Regions from separate parts of the Homo sapiens genome. Here regions 2 and 3 are each linked to region 1. The links are contacts of gene promoters, found by promoter capture Hi-C in blood cells and fetal thymus (Javierre and others, 2016). All regions are on one chromosome and are shown on one strand. Each heading gives the region's core, a stretch centred on a gene start or on the middle of the fragment in contact. The rest is flanking DNA. Distances are from core to core; before and after follow the strand shown.

The links. Contacts are between HindIII fragments. The CHiCAGO score rates a contact against its expected background, and 5 or more counts as called.
Region 2: a contact is called between the fragment with the promoter of ALPK2 here and the fragment with the promoter of LINC01926 in region 1, in 11 of 17 cell types (neutrophils, monocytes, total B cells and 8 more). The highest score is 9.8, in neutrophils.
Region 3: a fragment that was not itself captured here is called in contact with the fragment with the promoter of LINC01926 in region 1 in 12 of 17 cell types (total B cells, monocytes, naive B cells and 9 more); the score reaches 9.9 in total B cells.

The regions. Positions count from the first base shown.
Region 1 is chr18:58,810,686-58,815,279 of GRCh38, forward strand. LINC01926 (long intergenic non-protein coding RNA 1926) reads left to right here and starts at 3,195. Exons shown (of 3, transcript NR_146904.1): 1 at 3,195-3,389. The HindIII fragment of the contact is 11,966 bases long and covers 2,292-4,594 here.
Region 2 is chr18:58,626,241-58,630,360 of GRCh38, forward strand. It overlaps ALPK2 (alpha kinase 2), which reads right to left and starts at 2,851. Exons shown (of 13, transcript NM_052947.4): 1 at 2,524-2,851. RefSeq lists an enhancer at 2,868-3,410. The HindIII fragment of the contact is 8,777 bases long and covers 1,045-4,120 here.
Region 3 is chr18:59,066,112-59,070,387 of GRCh38, forward strand. It overlaps the pseudogene OACYLP. Among named protein-coding and RNA genes, the nearest start is that of SEC11C, 72 kb to the right of the region's middle. The HindIII fragment of the contact is 8,599 bases long and covers 1-4,276 here.

The DNA.
Region 1 (4,594 bases), core at 1,945-4,444:
GCACTTTGGGAGGCCGAGGCAGGTGGATCACTTGAGGTCAGGAGTTTGAGACCAGCCTGGTCAACATGGTGAAATCCCGCCTGTATTTTTTTTAATATAAAAAACATATTCAATTAAAAAAAACAAAAACAAAACAAATCCCAGTGTGATTATTTGGATGTACTGTTTCTTGAGCTAGATTGCTTAATTCTCTTTTTTTTTCTTTTTTTTTGAGACAGTCTCACTCTGTCACCCAGGCTGGCGTGTAATGGCATGATCTCAGCTCACTGCAACCTCCGCCTTCTGGGTTCAAGCGATTCTCCTGCCTCAGCCTCCTGAGTAGCTGGAATTACAGGTGCCTGCCATCATGCCCAACTAATTTTTGTATTTTTAGTAGAGATGGGGTTCCACCAGGTTGGTGAGGCTGGTCTTGAACTCCTGACCTCGTGATCCACCCGCCTCGGCCTCCCAAAGTGCTGGGATTACAGGCGTGAGTCATGGCGCCCGGCACTTAGTTCTGTTTATTATTATTATACCCTTGTCTCAACACCCATTGCTGGGCTCATTAAAACCCACGGGTCATCCTAAGACCACTTTTCAAAATTTCTTGACCAGTTCTTTCTCAAAACCCCCTAGCAAGAAGCTAAAATAGACTTTCTGGTCTTCCCTTGTTTCCTTACCATTCCCTGAAAATCCAGCGACAGAGGCCAGTAGCAAAAATGAGGAAAAGTCAGGATGCAAGCAGAGAACTCATGTGGGATTTTAAATTAATTGAGAGTTATTTATATCAGTTTTTATTCCAGAGATTTCCTGGTGTCTTGTTAGCCGAAGATGATGAGTATGCAGTTTGACAATTTTTTTTTTAATGAGCCTGTTTTTTTTCTTTTTTTCTTTTTTAAAGATAGGAGTCTCATTATGTTGCCCAAGGTGGCTTCGAACTCCTGTGCTCAAAGGATCCTCCTGCCTCATCTTGCTAAGTAGCTGGGAAAATGGGCCTATTTTGAAAACAGTTAATTGTACTAATGAAGCTTGATAACCTTATAATAGATTTTCTTTTGAAGTTCTTCTGCCAAAACATGGTGAAATAATAGGCACATTTCTCTGTTAGTCATATTTATAATCCGGGATTCTTTCTGAGCAAATGTCACTCTCCATTCAGGCTGCTGTGGAATATCATCTATCTTTGCAAATATTTACTTTCACACCTCCCATTTCAAGTGAGTTTTCTAACAATTTAAGCCCTTGTCCACCCTTCTTTGGATGATCCACCACACCTGGCCCCACTGCAGATTTCATAATTTTATTTTATATATTTATATATTTATTTATTTATTTATTTTTGAGACAGAGTCTCGCTCTGTTGCCCAGGCTTGAGTGCAGTGGCGGGGTCTTGGCTCACCGCCAGCTCTGCCTCCCAGGTTCACGGCATTCTCCTGCCTCAGCCTCCCGGGTAGCTGGGACTACAGGCGCCCGCCACCACGCCTGGCTATTTTTTTGTATTTTTAGTAGAGACAGGGTTTCGCCATGTTAGCCAGGATGGTTTCGATCTCCTGACCTCGTGATCCATCCGCCTCGGCCTCCCAAAGTGCTGGGATTACAGGCGTGAGCCACCACGCCCGGCTATTTATTTATTTTTTTTCAGAGACAGTCTCGCTCTGTCGCCTAGGCTGGAGTGCAGTGGTGTGATCTCGGCTCATTGCAACCTCCACCTTCCAGGTTCAAGCAATTCTCCTGCCTCAGCCTCCCGCAAAGCTAGGATTACAGGCGCATGCCACCATGCCTGGCTAATTTTTTTGTTTTGTTTTGTTTTGACACAGAGTCTCGCTCTATCGCCCGGGCTGGAGTGCAGTGGCACGATCTCAGCTCACAGCAACCTCTGCCTTCTGGGCTCAAGGGATTCTCCTACCTCAGCCTCCCAAATAGCTGGGATTACAGGTATGCACCACCATCCCTGGCTAATTTTTCTATTTTTAGTAGAGATGGGATTTCACCACGTTGGCCAGGCTTGTCTTGAACTCCTGTCCTCAGGTGATCCACCCACCTCGGCCTCCCAGAGTTCTGGGATTACAGGTGTGAGCCACTACGCCCGGTCAGCATCAGTATTCTTGCGCTATGGGGCCATCATGAAGTGAAATAAGAATGACTTGAACCCAAGCACTGCAATACAGAGACAGCCGATGTGGTAACTGAGAGGGCTCCGATGTGACTCATGAGTGGGGACATCTATGGCATGGAGATGCTGGACAAAGGGAGGAATCCCACCGCAGGTGCAAGGCTTCATCACACTACTCAGAATGGCAGGTGCAACTTAAAGCTTATGAATTGCTTATTTCTGGAATTTTCCATTTAATATTTTTGGACCTTAGTTAACGGAAGGTAACTGAAACCATGGAAAGTGAAATCATGGTTAAGTGGGGCTATGATAAATTGTGACCACCAAAAACAACAGAATTCATAACTGGCACGATGCAGCTATTTCTCCACTAAGGGCCCTGAGTGTTCTTTGAGTGTAAAATTTGTGTTTCTATTTTGGTGGTTATCTAAAAAAAAGCTAGCATCTGTGTGTTGCAGATCATCTGGCTGATTACCGCACAGCTCGAATTCTGCTTCATGATGCCTGCATTCACATTTTGTCTTGGATTCCAGATGTACTGGCACTACTGAGATGCTGAAAGCTCGGGATCCCCTATAACTGTCTTCTTCATCACCAACCCAAGAGTACAGCTGCAGAATTGCAAAGCCAGTTCTTCAGTGTAACATGCATATTTGATGATCGGTGTCCACCAAATTACAGGCTTTTATCTTTTTAATCTTTGGGAGTGAGAGTAGTTGACTTTTAATTTATGAATTTGTATTAAAAGCAAAAATGTCTGGAGAAAAGCGGTAAACTGGAAATTATGATTGGTGTAATTTACAATAGAAATAGGCAATTTCGAATAAAGAGCAGAAAACCATACCTAATTTATGCATGAGGACAGAATGCATGCTGAAATTAAGACAAGATTGACACTGAAAGACTAGGCAGAAAAAAAAAACAGAACAGAAAAAGAAGAGAAGAGTGGTGGAAATGTCAACAGATTCCTAGTGGAAATATTTGCTCACAGCCATCAAGCTGTACAAGTTTGAAAAAGTAAGATCAACAAAATATATTACAAGGATCTTTCTGAACTGGCTCTCAACCTTTTCTTTTTCCCTCATCCCATTCTATTTATACACATCACAGTCCCAAGAATAACACAAGAAATTCTCCAAGTTTCCAAGAAGGGAAGATGGAGTGGAGGGCGCCCACCCTATCTCCAGTGGACATCCCCTGGGCTACTCCTCTCCTGATGAGAAAATGCTCACTTCAGCCAAGTGCAGAATGGTCCCCTTTGTTTTCGTGGGTATCAGTGGAGAATGAGATCCTTCATGTAAGTAAAATTTCACTGTCACTCATTAGGATGGCTAATATCCAAATAAACAGAACAGAAAATAACAACTGGTGAGGATGTTGGGAAATTGGAATCCTTGTACATTGCTGGTGGGAATGTAAAATGGCGCCATTGTTGTAGAAAACAGTAATGACGTTCCTCAAAAACTTAACCCTAAAATTACCATATGATCTAGCAATTATGCTTCAGAGTATGTTCCCAAAAGAAATGAAAGCAGGCACTGATATGGCATGGCTCTGGGTCCCCACCCAAATCTCACCTTGAATTGTAATCCCCACAAGTCCAGGGAGGGACCTGGTAGGAGGTGATTGGATCATGGAACTGGTTTCCCCCATGTTGCTCTCATGACAGTAAGTTCTCACAAGATTCGATGGTATTATAAGGGGCTTTCCCTTCACTCACACTCTCTCCTGCCGCCTTGTGAAGAAGGTGCCTGCTTCCCCTTTGCCTTCCACTATGACCATAAGTTTCCTGAGGCTTCCCCAGCCATGGGGAACTGCGAGTCAATTAAGCCTCTTTTGTTTATAGATTGCCCAGTCTCAGGTAATATATCAGGCAGTATCTTTATAGCAGTGTGAAAACGGACTAATACAGGGACTCAAACAGATACTTGTACTTCCACATTTCTAACAACTAAACTGTGGAAGCAACTTAAGTGTCCACTGATAGACGAATGGAGAAACACAATGTGGAACATACATACAATGGAATAGAGTTCAGCCTTAAAAGAGAAGGTCATTCTTTTTTTTTCTTTCTTTCTTTTTTTTTTTTTTTTTTTGAGACAGGGTCTCGCTCTGTCATCCAGGCTGGAGTGCAGTGGCGTGATCTCGGCTCACTGCAACCTCTGCCTCCCAGGCTCAAGTGGTCCTCCCACCTCAGCCTCCCGAGTAGCTAGGACTATAGGTGTGCACCACTATGCCTAGCTGATTTTTGTATGTTTTTAGTAGAGACAGGGTTTCACAATGTTGCCCAGGCTAATTTTGAACTCCAGAACTCAAGCACTCTGACCACCTCAGCCTCCTGAAGTGCTGGGATTACAGGCATGAGCCACCGCGACTGGCCTAAATTGTCTAGCTTTTAATCTGCCTCATTGCATCTGACAGCTACAAACTACAACCCTTCCCTGTTCCTGAATTTTCTTCCAAAACACATCTGTAATGCCACTGCCATGCCTGCGAAGCACT
Region 2 (4,120 bases), core at 1,601-4,100, 180 kb before region 1:
CCCGCTTGTGAATCTCGTCTGCTCCCTCCCATCCCTGCCTGGCCTTTCTCCCTATTCATTGTGTACTTTTATCACTGACCCCGCGCAATTCTAGCCCACGGTGCGATCCCTATCCTGGAAACTACACTTCTTCTGAGTTGGCCCAAAGCTACTGCCCCTGCTCTGCTCCTCCAAAGGCTAGTCCACTTCAAAGAGTTTTCACCTCCACTCCCGCCCCCACCTCTCTCAATGCAAGACTCGACTATAATCTTTGAGGAAAGGCTGGGCGTGTGCCTTCATTTTCATAGTTTTCATCATGATCACAGGCCTTTCATTACTATGGATTCCCAAACACTCATATTTAAATATGGTAATGATATGTATTAAAAAGCATTCCCAGAGGATGTTGATAAATCTCTACTTCTGCTTTTAGATAATAAGCATCAATTATCCATCAACTATTTTTAGTAAAAAAAAATTTTTTCTTATTTATCATAGATACATTCTAAAATATCTTTTTTTAATTTTCAAACACATTGTTTCCAAGTACAGAATTTTTCTCAAAGAATCTAATTGTGTTATGTTGTATTGCACTGATGCAGATAATGTATAGTTTCTATTACTTTATATAGTTTATTTTATGGTAGTATTCTAAAGTTTTAGCAAAAAAAAAAAAGACAGAAGCTTTTAATTAAGGTGAAAAACTAACTTTCATTGAGAAACTATGATTCGACACATACTTTAGGTATATTTATTCATCTAATCCCCCATCAATCCTGTTAAAGTGAATACTGTTAAGATTTTACAGATGAGTAAACTGGGGTTCAAACAGGTTGAAAAGTTATGCTAAAATTAGGAGTCGATTCCAAATCTGACTCCAAAGCCTTTCTCAGGACCTCCCCTGCTTCTCCCACCTCCATCCAGAGTAAGATACTAACTCAACTGCATCGCATCACAGGGGCTGATACCTACACACAAGTGTTCAGGAGGCTGTTAAAAACTCATGAAACTGGAGGAGAAAAAAACTTTGTAGGTAATGACAATAGGAACTCTGCCCTACCTAAAAGCTTCCCAAAATTATGATTAAATGTTTGGTAAAAACATCAAAAAGACAATGTAGGCCAGGCGCGGTGGCTCACGCCTGTAATCCCAAGACTTTGGGAGGCCGAGGCGGGTGGATCACCTGAGGTCAGGAGTTCAAGACCAGCCTGGCCAACATGGTGAAACCCCATCTCAACTAAAAATACAAAAAAAATTAGCTGGGCATGGTGGCAGGCACCCGTAATGCCACCTACTTTGGGAGGCTGAGGCAGGAGAATCGCTTGAACCCAGGGGGCGGAGGTTGCAGTGAGCTGAGACTGAGACATTGTACTCCAGCCTGGGCAACAAGAGCAAAACTCTATCTAAAAACAAAAAACAAACAAACAAAACAAAACAAAAAAAGGACAATGTATATTTGGGAGCTAAAGTTCATTTAGTTTGTTTTAAGTCCTGATTTCCAAGATCTGAACATGGTTATTGGCCATCCATGCTTTTTAATACAGGATTTGTGAAGTTGTTGATTCGGAAGGTAACCCACAACATCCTTGGTTTCAATTCAGAAGCCACACAGCAAAAAACCCCTTCAATTTGTCCTTAGTTGATATAGAGTTATAAAACATATCACATATCTCTGGAATGACCATTCCTGGTTAATTAATCTTTAGAAATAAAGGCTACCTTTACTTAAGGAAAAGGTTGTGGAAAGAAAATAATTAGAGCAGAAGCAGCTCTAAATGCCGTTCTTGCTTTTATCTATTTTTAAATGATTGCCAAATGTCTGTAACTGACACCCTTAATCAAGGCTTTTAAAGTTTAGATGTGTTCATTAAATTGTAATGTGACAGTGGTGGCATTTAATTGATGGATTTTTTTTTGGCTGACTTTTTGCCTTAAATTTTTTTTTAAATCTATTTAACAACTCGATAAATGTTTACATCAGCCATTTTGAAAAGCCTGATAGCTTTTCAGCAAATTGCATTACCTGTTGTCAGACAATATACTCCTGTGTCTACCCAGATAGGAGAGATTTTCAATCATTCAGTTAATTCACAGTAAAAGGAATAACTCTTGACTAAAATACTCAAATATTTCAGACAAAAGTCTCTGGGGCCTGAGTTACCTGGATAGTTGACTTTTTATGTTGCTTTGCAAAACTTTACATATCACTCGTTTGAGTCATTCTGTATATTTTTTCTAACTGTTAAGATAGACATGATGTGAAAGAAACTGTTTTCATTCATTATTGTCAAGCCAAAATAAGCAAATTTAAAAATAGCAATAATTTTCAAAAAGGGTCAAAATGGACTTAAATTACAAGACCATGAGAGTTTGCCCACTTTAAAACCTTATATGCCCAAATATCCCATATAATCCCTATTGGTTTCATCTCATTCTATTTCATCAGGAAACCATCTGCTTTGTTCTTTGTTGCAGAAAATGTAAACAACTATATATTGAAAGCACAGCCATTCCTTATGTAAAAACCAAAGTCTACATACTTACTTTTCAGTACTCTTTGTCCAAGAAATGTTGTAGGAGGGCTGGCTCAGCTGTGGATTCCCCAGGCTGTGTGTGAGGCATTGATTGGGTGTCCCTGTTCCCGGGACAGGGATTCAAAGGAGTTTATAGGGCTCAGGGTCTTCCATGATCAGGTCAAAGCATAGATGGGTCTGCTTCCAGAAAGTTCATCTCTTCCTAAGAGGGGAAATTCCATGCCCGGGGAAGTTCTGGAAGAAGAGCATTTTTTCCCCGCCCTTCAGTGAACTAGGTCATTGCTGAAGCTGGAGAATATATTTTAGCATCCCTGTGATGAAACTTGAGGGCTGTTTCTGCAGTAGGTGCGACACTTGTTGACACGACACGCTGGGGAGGCCCTGGCAAGGGGGCCTGGTGAAATGCAGCCCCAGGGAGCTGATGAAACCCAGACGAGCTGTCACTGGCTGCTGCTCAGGAGACCGAGCAGCTCTTTACAAAGCCCATGCTGGACCCTGGGCTTAGTTGCTCGCTCCTTAGGAAAGGAAAAACTTGCTGCCTGATAAAGGGATTAAGGCCGGAGTAACACAACCAGTTCTCATACCAAGGTTATCAGGCATTTGAAGTACACATAGGAAACCCGTGGAGGGGGTGTTGGGGAGGTGAAAATATGTGTCATATGTTGTTCATTTAGAACAGGCATTATAGCCATCCTCTGAAGTTCTCTGAGAAAGGCAGAAGCCACAGAAGGAAGGCAGGATCCACCCTCCTCACCCTGCTTACCCCCCCTTACCCCTTGTCTGTCTGTCTGTCTCTCTCTCTCTCTCTCTCACACACACACACACACACACACACACACACACCCCTTCCTATTTTGACTACGATAGAAGAGAACAGACAAAGATCAGAAGAAATCCACAGAAGAAATACCACAGGTCCTATTCCTTCAGATTGCCTGGAATGGTTCTTGTTGGGAAAGTAGATTTTGTAATATGGGCAATTCTTTTATTGAAGTTTATCCAAGTCCAAAAACATAGAGAATCCTTTAGCATCATTCTGTAACTACTTAGCCTCTCCCCAAAAATATTTTAATGTATGACACCTGGAAATTGACAGCTTAGACAGAAACCTCTTTTGAGACTCGTGGAGACAGCTCAAATTAGCAGCTCCAGGGGTGACTTTGAAAGGGACATAGCTGTAAATATTCACTCTGTGTAGGGCACTGCAATCCTCAAAAGCAAATTGTTTTTACACAGCACAGAATGTACATCATTATCCCTTGATGGAATGCAACTTTTCACAAGATGAAAACTCATCTAAAACGATAAAATATTAAGAAATGTAGGGGTGATATGTTCTGTTTTTCAGTTTTATCTTCATGTGAGAAAAAAGATATTAAAGCTGAGGCACTGTAAAATAATGACTATCTCCTGGGGAACACATCTGTGAAATGCCACAGAACACAGAAATTACCAACTCTTTGCAAATGGTCGGCTTTATGGAAAGCTGAGGTCTTCACAATGTAAGGTCTTTTCCAGATAAGAAAGAGGAGATAACTTCAAGTTGGGAATGAAGAGAGGAGGAAAGTGTGATGATAAAGAATAAACAAATGCTGTCGCACACCACA
Region 3 (4,276 bases), core at 933-3,432, 250 kb after region 1:
TAAAGCAGGGATTAGTGGGTAACTAACTGGACTAGGGGTACATTTGCAAAGATGTGGTATGAAAGCATTCTGGGCAGATGGAATGTGAAGGCAGAGGTCTCTAGACTGGAACGAGCTTAGTGGCTTGGAGGAAGAGCAAAATGACCAGTGAGATAGGAACCAAGGGTCAAGGGGGAGAGAGAGGTGGGAAGGGAACTCAGAGAGGAGGGTAGGACCCAGGTTAGGCAGAGCTTTCAAGGCCATGGGAAGAGTTTGGATTTTATTTTAAATGCCACATCACATGAAGTCTTAGTCCATTTCAGCTACTATAACAAAAATAAAGCCCCATAAATGAGGTGGCTTAAAAACAACAGAAATTTATATCTCACAGTTCTGGAGCTGGGAGGTCTAAGATCAAGGCACCAGCAGATTTAGTGTTTGGTGAAGGCCTGCTTTCTGGTTCTTAGCTGGAACTTTCTAGATGTGTCCTCACATGGCGGAAGGGTAGGGCTGTCTCTCTGGGGTCGCTTTTATAAGAGCACTGATACCATTCCTGAAGGCCCAGCCCTCGTGAACTAATTGCCTCTCCAAAGACTCCACCTCTTGATACTAACACCTTGGGGATTAGGATCTCAACATATGAATTTTGGGGGAATGTAAACACTCAGATCATAGCCCATGATTTGATTTGTGGATTTGTAAAATTTATTTTCAAATGGACAAATAATAACTGTATTTATGGGGTACAATGTGATGTTTTGGTATATGTATACCTAGTAGAAAGATGAAATCAAGTTAATTAACATAGGCATCACTTCACCAAGTTATCTCTTTTTTGTGGTAAGAATGTTAAGAATCTTTTCTTTTAGCCATTGAAAAATATCCAGTACATTATTATTAACTGTGGTCACTATGCAGTGCAATAGATCACTAAAACTTACTCCATCGGTTTAACTGAAACTTTGTACGCTTTGATCAATATCTCCCCCTTCCCCATTTCTCCCTGATATGTGATTTTAAAAGATTACTCTGGATGTGGTGTGGGGACTATAAGGTGGCAAGAACAAGAGCAGAGACCAACAGATCCACTGGGAAGCTACCATGGAGGCCCACGCAGGAGGTGATGGAAGATTCACGAGGGTGTTAGCCATGGAGGTGAGGAGCAATGGTCTGATTTGAGACATATTTTTGGAAGCACTCTATGGAGTCTGGAATGAAAGGAGTCTGGGAAGGCTCCAAAGATTTATCCTGAGCAAATTGTGATTCACTACTGAGCACTTTTAATGAGGCTTGTGCAAAGGAGAAACAGAAGTTATATTTTATATCTGTGGCTTAAAACAACAGAAATTTTTTTCTCTCACAGTTCTGGAGGCTAGCTGTTCAAAATCGAAGTGTCAGCAGGGTTGGTTCCATCTGGATTTTCTGAGGGAGAATCTGTCCCATCCCCTCTCCTAGCCTCTGGTAGCTGCTGGCAAGCCTTGGCATTCCTTGGCTCATGGACTCTTCACTCCAGTCTCTGTCTTCGTCATCACATGGTTCTCTTCCTTGTGTCTCTCCTCTGCATTTGTGTCTCCTTTTCTGTCTCTTATAAGGACATTTGTCATTGGGTTTAGGGTCCACCCTAATCCAGGATGATCTCATCTCTAGTTCTTTCTCTTAATGACATCTGCAAAGACCCTTATTCCAAATAAGGTTACATTCTGAGGTTCTGGGTGGACATATCTTTTGAAAGATCACTATGCAACTCACTAGAGATAGCAATAAGTCCTATTCAGAAAGGAAGTTTTCATTGCATTTAATTTTAATTAAGTTAAATAGCCACAAGTGGCTAGGGGCTATTGTCTGGGACAACACAGTTCTAGAATATATACCAAGTTACAGAATATTTGTCCTGAAAGGCACCTACAAATGCAAGCCTCTCACTGACAGAAGAGTTTGAGGCCTGGCAATGTTAAATGCCTTATCCCAACGCCCCCCTGTGGCTGCATCTTGATCCAGAACCCAGGTGAATATGAGGAATTTTTACCTTGTTTTATACATGCAATGTTTTATGCTCAGGGGCTGAAACCATGTATCTCTCTTGTGTTATCATAATTCTTGCAACAGAAAGGTGGTTTTTGGTTTGGTACATTGTCTTAAAATGATAACGCATAAAGACTTTCTTAGGAAAAGTTCACAGACTTAGGCACAGAATGCAATGGGAGCATCGATGGGATGATGGGCATCTTCACTGGCCCAGAGACAGGCTGTGGCTTCATGCATCAGTGCTTGTTCCCTCCAGGTCTGGTGAACCGTGTGCTTTCTTGGGACATCTGGAGTTTCCTGTCCAGCATCAGTTATGCTCGCTACTTGGTGCATCCGATTCTGATCATCCTTTACAATGGCCTTCAGGAAACACTTATTCACCACACTGACACCAACATGGTGAGTTAGCACGCAGCTCCTAGTTCTGTTACGGTAGGTTATGGTATCATAGCTTGTTCTCTTCTTGAGCAACAAGGCAACCTATTTGCTTTCGTGGAAGTCTTTTTTTTTTTTAAGAGCTTCATTGTTCTTTGCTTTATTTGTGGCAGAAAGAGGGAGGGCTTCAGCACAGGATAATATCTTTTATTTTATTTATTTTATTTTTAATATGTAGCACTGATTGTCCTACAGATGCATTTCATAGAGCTAGGATGGTACACTTTAGATCTGAACACAATAGGAATCCCAGAGTAAAACTGTGTTCACCCTGCCCACTTTCTCTCCAGTTCTATCTTTTCTCTGGACACCGTGTGCTGACCTTCGTCACTGGGCTGGCCCTGACGCTGTTCATTGAGAAACCATGTCAGGAACTGAAGCAGCACCTGCTGGGCCATGAATGTTCTGGTTAAAACACAAAAGAATGGATGGGCCTTGTTGGTAATGACGAGCAAAGATGAGGTGGCCTTATCTAGGTGATGAATGCTTGTATTCCCGAGAAGGGGTGTGAATCTCATTTTGTGAAAGTTTAATATATACATTTTCTTTGCATTTAATATGTGAAAGAGTTCTTAGTTCTTATGATGTAAGAGAGTTCTCTAAATTTTTAGTAGCACAATAATAAACTTCTGTTGTACCATTTTAGCAAACAACAACAACAACAACAACAGAAACTGGATTTCTTTTTGGTTTAAACTCCATTTGATTGTCTGTATCAATGATCACAGGAAATGATTAAATGTCGTGCATTTAATGTAATTTGGGTTATGAAGCTCATTTGGGTTATGCTCTTCACTTTTCTCTGTAAAATTACAACATGCAGTATGCACTTTCCCACGACAGAATTGTTTATGTGTTATTATGGCGTCTTTGCAGACTTGTAACTTTATCCTAGAACCTCAGTGGTATGACCCGCTAGCATGCATACTTCATGGGTCTGTCATTATAGGGCCTTTCAAATATCACCTATTCTTCACCATAGTCCCTGTTTTGGACTGAATTGTATCCCCTCCCCCAAAAGCTCTGTTGAAGTCCTAACTCCCATTCCCTCAGAATGTGGCCTTATTTGGAGCCAGGGTCTTTATAGAGATAATGAAGTCCAACGAGGTCACTGGGGATGGAGATTCTAATCCAGTATGACTGGTGTCCTTATAATAAGCAGAAGTTTGGTCACGGAGACAGGCATACACACAGGGAAGACGATGTGAAGACCCAGGGAGAAGACAGTCATGTGCAAACCCAGGAACACCAAGGCAAACCCCAGAAACCGGGGGAGGTAAGGACAGAGTCTGCCCTGGAGCTGCCCGAGAAAGCATGGCCCCGTGGGACACCTCGATTTTGGACTTCTGGCCTCCAGAACTGTGAGATAATTCATGTCTGTTGTTTCAAGCCACCCAGTTTTTGGTACTTTGTCACAGCAGCCCTAGATAGATGGATATCCCTATGCACCAACATAGGGCCTCAACAAAAACTAACAGAGAAGGAAGAGACCTCAGCCAGTGGTTTCCAGCCCAACCCCCTCAATTTGCAGCGATGAGACCTAGAGATGAGGAGAGACTCGCAAGGCCAAACAGAGATGCTAGGATCCAGGCTCTCGGATGTGTGTTTTTTCTAGGTGTATAATTATGCATTAACTGTCTACAGTTATGGATTAATTAAGTCCATTCCATCGCTTATAATAAAGCTCTTTGTGTACTTACTCATTAAAGTATTAACAACCGCAGGCTACAAGGTCCTTATTAGCGTGGGATGCGCCACATCTGAGGATGCTCTTTGCTGTCCAGTGCGTTTGCAAAGATGACCAATGTGGGTGGGGAGGGGAAGGCTGAACGTTTCA